Regions from separate parts of the Homo sapiens genome. Here region 1 is linked to region 2. Evidence: promoter capture Hi-C in 16 types of primary human blood cells and fetal thymus (Javierre and others, 2016). All regions are on one chromosome and are shown on one strand. The core of a region is centred on a gene start or on the middle of the fragment in contact, and the rest is flanking DNA. Distances in the headings are between cores, read along the strand shown. Region 1 overlaps NPHP3-AS1 (NPHP3 antisense RNA 1). Region 2 holds the start of TMEM108-AS1 (TMEM108 antisense RNA 1).

Region 1 (3,301 bases), core at 584-3,083, 480 kb before region 2:
TGATGCACATTTAACTTTTAAAGAAACTGCCAGTTTCCGAAAGTGTATGAGGGATTCCATATCCTTGCCAACATTTGGTGTTGTCAGATAGTTTTCAATGTAGCCATGGGTATGTTCATGATATCACTGATTCTTTCTTTTCTTTTCTTTTCTTTTTTTTTTTAACATTTTCATGGATTCTTAATCTGGTATCTATAGAACACTCTTGGGGTATGTTTGTGAAATTATATGCAAAAATTTATGGTTGCTTACCTTTTGAGTGTATGTGGATAGAGTCTATAATTTTCAGCTTCTTAATGCAGTCCCTCATCCCTTCAAGTGTTTACATTTATACAAAGGGCAGTCTCTAAATGTGTGATTTCTGGTCGGTCCGATAGCATAGGCCATAATAAAATATCAGGAATCAACTATTTATGCTCTGACATCTTATAGATTTTGTTTTACTGTAAAATGCAGTTAAGTAACACAAATTCTCACTAGCTCTTGATGTCTAAAAATACTATTTGGCCCAGATTTCTAGAATGTCCTCATGCATCCACAGCCCTTTCTATAATGAAAATCATCTCCTCTGGCCCTGTGTTATTAGAAAAGGAAATTTACATTTCTGATTTGATTAAAGAAAAATCAGTCATGGTGACTTTCACAGTGAATGTCTTTTGGCCTACCTGAAGCTCGGGCAAATGAAACAGGTAGGTGTAATTGCTGCAGACATTTGGCGTGCTCTATAAGGCTCAATTTATGATTGTGATTAGCCTCATCATTGTAGACTTTGAGAAATTTGCTTCCTAGATTGTTGTTTATTTTCATGTGCATAATTTAGCGAAGGTTTTCAAAGCATCATTTTTATGTGTGTGAACTTAAAAATTAGTGAGCTTCAGAAAGGATAAAGTTTCCTTTTGCAAACCCTCATATTCAGTTTAAAAATTCACACTGAATGAATTCAAGGATTAAAGAAAGAATTGAAAAATGTTTGCTCATTCTGTGGATGTCCTGTTTATGCCCAATTCATCATGTGCCATTAACTGACAATGGTCACTTCCAGTATAAAAATTTTTAAAAAGCCAGCTTCTAGCATTCATCTTAGTAAATGTCTTTCTAGAATATGTATTTTTTTATTTTTAATTTTTGTGATTACATAGGTATATATATTTATGGGGTACATGAGATATTTTGGTACAGACATGCAATGCGTAATAACCACATCATGAAAAAATTAGGTATCTATTCCCTCAAGCATTTATCCTTTGTGCTACAAACAATCTAATTACACTCCTTTAGTTATTTTAAAAGGTGCAATTAAAATATTATTGACTATAGGCCCCCTGTTGTGTCTCACTTATTTGTGGGATCTAAAAATCAAAACAATTGAACTCATGGAGATCGAGAATAGAAGGATGGTTACCAGAGGCTGGGAAGGGTAGTGGGGGGTGGGAGAGAGGTGGGAGTGGTTAATGAGTAAGAAAAAAAAAAAAAAAAAAAAGCCAGGCACAGTGGCTCTTGCCTGGGAGGCCAAGGTGGGCGGATCACTCGAACTCAGGATTTTGAGACCAGCTTGGGTGACTCAGTGAAACCTCGTCTCTACCAAAAATACAAAAATTAGCCAGGAGTGGTGGCACATGCCTGTAATCCCAGCTTCTTGGGAGGCTGAGGCACGGGAATCGCTTGAACCTGGGAGGTAGAGGTTACAGTGAGCTGAGATCGCGCCACTGCACTCCAGCCTGGGTGACAGAGTGAGACTCTGTCTAAAAAAAAAAAAGAAGAGCGAATAAGACCTAGAAATGTCTTCTGTTAGGAGTTTGGGTTTGAATAACAGCAACATAGAATTATGTGTTGGCCGTCTATACTGCATCCAAATTGCTTGAGTATTAAAATAATGAATGAGATACAGTAGGATGGCACTATCATTCCAGACTACTATAGTTGTCAAGGCATTAGTTCAGTATCTCATTGATTGTCACTGGATATGATGAGAGGAGAGGTGGTGCAGGGGAGAAAGTTCAGATATACTGTTGTTTCTTTGTAACAGCTTTATTGAGATCTAATTTACATACCATACAGCTCACCCATTTTTAGCATAATTTAATGATTTTCAGTATATTTGCAAAATTGTGCGACTGTCACCACAATTAATTTCAGAATATTTTCAGCATCTCAAAAGAAACCTATACCCTTTAGCAATCACACCCCTCCTCCACTTCCCCAAAGTGTTTCCAGCCCTAGGTAACCAGGAAACTACTTTCTGTGTCTATGGATTTGCCTCTTCTGGACACTTCATAAATATGGAATCATAAAATATGTAGTTTTTGTGACTGTCTTCTCTCAATTAGTACATTTTGGAGGTTCATCCATATTGTAATGTGTATTCATATATCATTCTTTTTATTATTGAAGAATGTTCTATTGTATGGGTAAGACCACATTTTATTTACCCATTCATCATTGATAGATGTTTGTATTGTTTCCACGTTTTAGCTGCTGTGAATAGTGTTGCTATGAACATTTGTGTAGAACTTTTTTAACTTAATGTTTTCAATTCTCTTGGGTATACATCTAGAAGTAGAACTGTTGGGTTATGTAGAACGTCTATGTTTAACTGAGGAATTGCTAAACTGTTTTCTAAGCAGCTGCATAATTTTACAATCCCACTAGCTATGTATTGGGATTCTGAGTTCTTCCCACATCCTCCACAACACGTGTTATTGTCAGTCTTTTTTATTTTAGTCATTCTAAGGGGTATGAAGTGGTATCTCGTTGTGGTTTTGAATGGCATTTATCTGATGATAATAATGTTGAGCATCTTTAAAATTTTTTTTTAATTTTTAAATTTTTTTGTGGGTACATAGTGGGTGTATATATTTATGGGGTACATGAGATGTTTTGATACAGGCATGCAATGTGAAATAAGCATGTCATGAAGAATGGAGTATCCATCCCCTCAAGTATTTATCCTTCGAGTTACAAACAATCCAGTTACATTCATTATTTTTAAAATGTACAATTGTTATTGCTGACCATAGTCACTTTATTGTGCTTATCAAATAGTAGACCTTATTCATTCTTTCTAACTCTTTTTTGTACCCATTAATCATCGCTAGCTCTCCTCTAGCCCCCAGTACCGTTCCCAGGCTCTGGTAACCATCCTTCTTCTCTGTCTGTCTGTTGAGCATCTTTTCATATGGTTATTTTCCATTTGTATATTATCTTATTTGGATAAATGTCTACTCAGATCTTTTACTCATTTTTTAATTGCCCTTTCTCTTATTGAGTTATAAGAGATTTTTGATATGCTTTTAAGTAGTAG
Region 2 (2,895 bases), core at 283-2,782:
AATAGAGACAATGGGGGAGACGTATTTGAAAACATAATGGCTTAGAATATTTTCTAGAATGTATGAAAGATATGCATACTCAGATTCTGGGAATACTGTGAGTCTCAAAAATAATAAGGGCTGGGCGTGGTGGCTCACGCCTGTAATCCAAGCTCTTTGGGTGGCCGAGGTGGATAGATCACCTGAGGTCAGCAGTTCAAGACCAACCTGGCCAACATGGTAAAACCCCATCTCTACTAAAAATATAAAAATTAGACAGGCATGGTGGTGCACGCCTGTCATCCCAGCTACTCAAGAGGCTGAGGCAGGAGAATTGCTTGAACCTAGAAGGCGGAGCTTGCAGTGAGCCGAGATCATGCCACTGCACTCCAGCCTCTGCACTGGCTGACAGAGTGAGTCTCCTTCTCAAAAATAAATAAATAAATAAACAACAAGAACTGCATGCATGCCTGGTTATAAAAACAGCAAATAAAGAGATAATCCTAAAAGCAGCCAGAGGAAAATGTTCCTTATAAAGGAATAATATTTAAACTGATGGTTGACTTCTCAACAGCCACCACAGAATCAAGGAGACAGTGAAATAATATCTTTAAAATGCTGATAGAAAACAACCAGCAACTTGGAATTAAAGATCTGATCAAATAATCATTAAAGCACGAGGGTAAAATAAAGACATTTTCAGATATTTTTTAAAGTAGAACATTTTCACAGATGGACATTCATTTACAGAACTTCTAAAAGATATGCCTCAGGAAAAAGAACATTTCTTCTGAGAAACAAGGTCTTAAATATAAGAAGGAATAGCCAGCAAAGAAATTGGCAAACATAGTAGTCAACCCAAGCAAACATTTTCTGTATGAAACATATAATAATGTCTAATATGTGGGGTTAATGAAAAACAACACAGAATAAATATACTAGACAATAATAGCAGTTAAGTTGGGAGGGGATGAAGAGAATCAAAGTCTTATAAATTCCTTGTATTGTTAGGATGGAAAATATATCAATTAACTTAGGCATAGTCAAGTTTTAGTAGGCATGGCAAAATTTCAAGGAAACTACTAAAAGACATAGAATTCATAACTTCCAAACCAGTAAAACAGAACTATTAGAATAAGAAAGAAAAAACTCAGTCCAAAGGAAGGCAATCAAGAAGGGGAAAATAGATATAGAGAAATCTGGATAAGTAGGACAAGGCAGAAATAAATCCAAATGTCAGTAAGCACAGTAAATGTAAATGGACCAAACTAGCCAGTTAAGTGCTCCACAATTCACTTCATGAAATTACTATAACCTTAATGCAAAAGCCAGAAAATGATAGTATGAGAAAGTAAAATTACTGAGTCAGTCTTACCCGTGAACATAGTTCTAAAGTCATGGCTTGGTGAGAGGGATGACAATCATGAAACTGAAAGGGAAACAGTGCCTGTACTTACCATCCCTGATGTCAAAATGCCTGCAAGGACACTGCCTTCCTTTAGTTTATTTCTTGGGTAGAGACGACAGGAGGTCTTTATTGATATTATCTCATTTGAGATTGTCTCTTAATATTCATAACCTAAGGCTGCTATACAGTGCCTGTGTTATATAACAGCACCTCTTTTACAACTCAGGATGTCACAGTATTATGAGTAATGAGGTGCTTGTGGGAGTTATTGAAGGATTAACTATAGACTTGTAACCAATCCAAGAATTGCAGGAGATGAGGCACCCTCGTAAAGAATTTATCAAAGTAATTTGTCTATGTTGCTGTGGACAGATTACATTCTTATTCACTCTCTGAAAGTTTATTGCCAGTCTCTGAGTAGTTACAAATGCATTATTAATAATCCTTAGAAAAGCAATACATTGTTGCATGGCTTAAGCTTTGCTCGTGTCTAGAAATTTGGAACAGTTGAACCTGACTTCATTTCACTGCCTCTTAAAACTTGATCCCCCTGAAACAAAACCTAAAGAAGTATTGTGTTTCTCCCTCTAAATTCAGTGAATCTACTTGTCATTTATTCAGTGGTATTTGAAAGCTTAAGTTGGCAAATTAGACTAATATTAAAAACTTAGATATGCCTCTCTTCCTTCCCCATCTTTGAGAGCTGTTACTGAGTAAAGGAGCAAATGAAAAGGGATGAAACTCTCTGGTAGTTAAGTAGTGTATCTAAACTAAGTGGAGTAGATACTGCCTAGTTGTAAACTTCAGCCAGTTGTCTGTTGAGAAAGACAGGTGCAGGGGCTTTTCTTTTTTATTTTTCATGCAACAACTTACTTAGTGTATAACACTGAGCTATCCCTGTTTGGAAGAAGCCAGAGGCCCAGAAAATTTTTGCTAAAGGAGGGGTTGCTTTATGTATCTCCTTTAAAGGGAGATGGGTAGGACAGGATTCAGATGCTCCTGAGTCCCATAGTGAAAATACCATTTATAACCTGCTGTAGACTGTATGTTTATGATCCCCCCAAATTCATATGTTGAAACCTGAAGCCCAATGTGATGGTATTTGGAGGTGGGGCCTTTGGGAGGTGATTAGGTCATGAGGGTGGATCCCTCGTGAATGGGATTAATGCCCTTATAAAAGAGACCTTAAGGAGCTTTCTCACCCCTTCCTCCGTTTGAAGACATGGTGAGAAGGTATGGTCTATGAACCAGCCAGCGGGCCCTCACCAGAAACTGAGTCTGCTGGCACCTTGATCTTGGGCTTCTCAGCTTCCAAAACTATGAGAAGTAAATTGCTGTTGTTTGGTATTTTATTATAGCAGCCCTAACAGACTAAGATCCTCACCATAGTTTCCATCAAGCTACAAGAAGGGCATGTTGTGAAGGCAGGAAAGCATACCATGTGGTGGGCCCAGGCTGAAAGGAGCCAGCTGCCCACACCACCTCGCTTTTGATAAAGTTGGATGGAG

What was found. Contacts are between HindIII fragments. The CHiCAGO score rates a contact against its expected background, and 5 or more counts as called.
Region 1: a contact is called between a fragment that was not itself captured here and the fragment with the promoter of TMEM108-AS1 in region 2, in 1 of 17 cell types (M1 macrophages). The highest score is 5.6, in M1 macrophages.

Annotation. Positions count from the first base shown.
Region 1 is chr3:132,774,694-132,777,994 of GRCh38, forward strand. The region is part of intron 3 of NPHP3-AS1 (NPHP3 antisense RNA 1); the gene reads left to right. It overlaps LOC105374115 (a long non-coding RNA gene), which reads right to left. Exons shown (of 3, transcript XR_924500.3): 3 at 2,013-3,301. Among named protein-coding and RNA genes, the nearest start is that of NPHP3-ACAD11, 54 kb to the left of the region's middle. The HindIII fragment of the contact is 3,795 bases long and covers 1-3,301 here.
Region 2 is chr3:133,255,589-133,258,483 of GRCh38, forward strand. TMEM108-AS1 (TMEM108 antisense RNA 1) reads right to left here and starts at 1,533. Exons shown (of 3, transcript NR_110812.1): 1 at 1,437-1,533. All of the region lies in intron 3 of TMEM108 (transmembrane protein 108), which reads left to right. The HindIII fragment of the contact is 5,600 bases long and covers 1-1,863 here.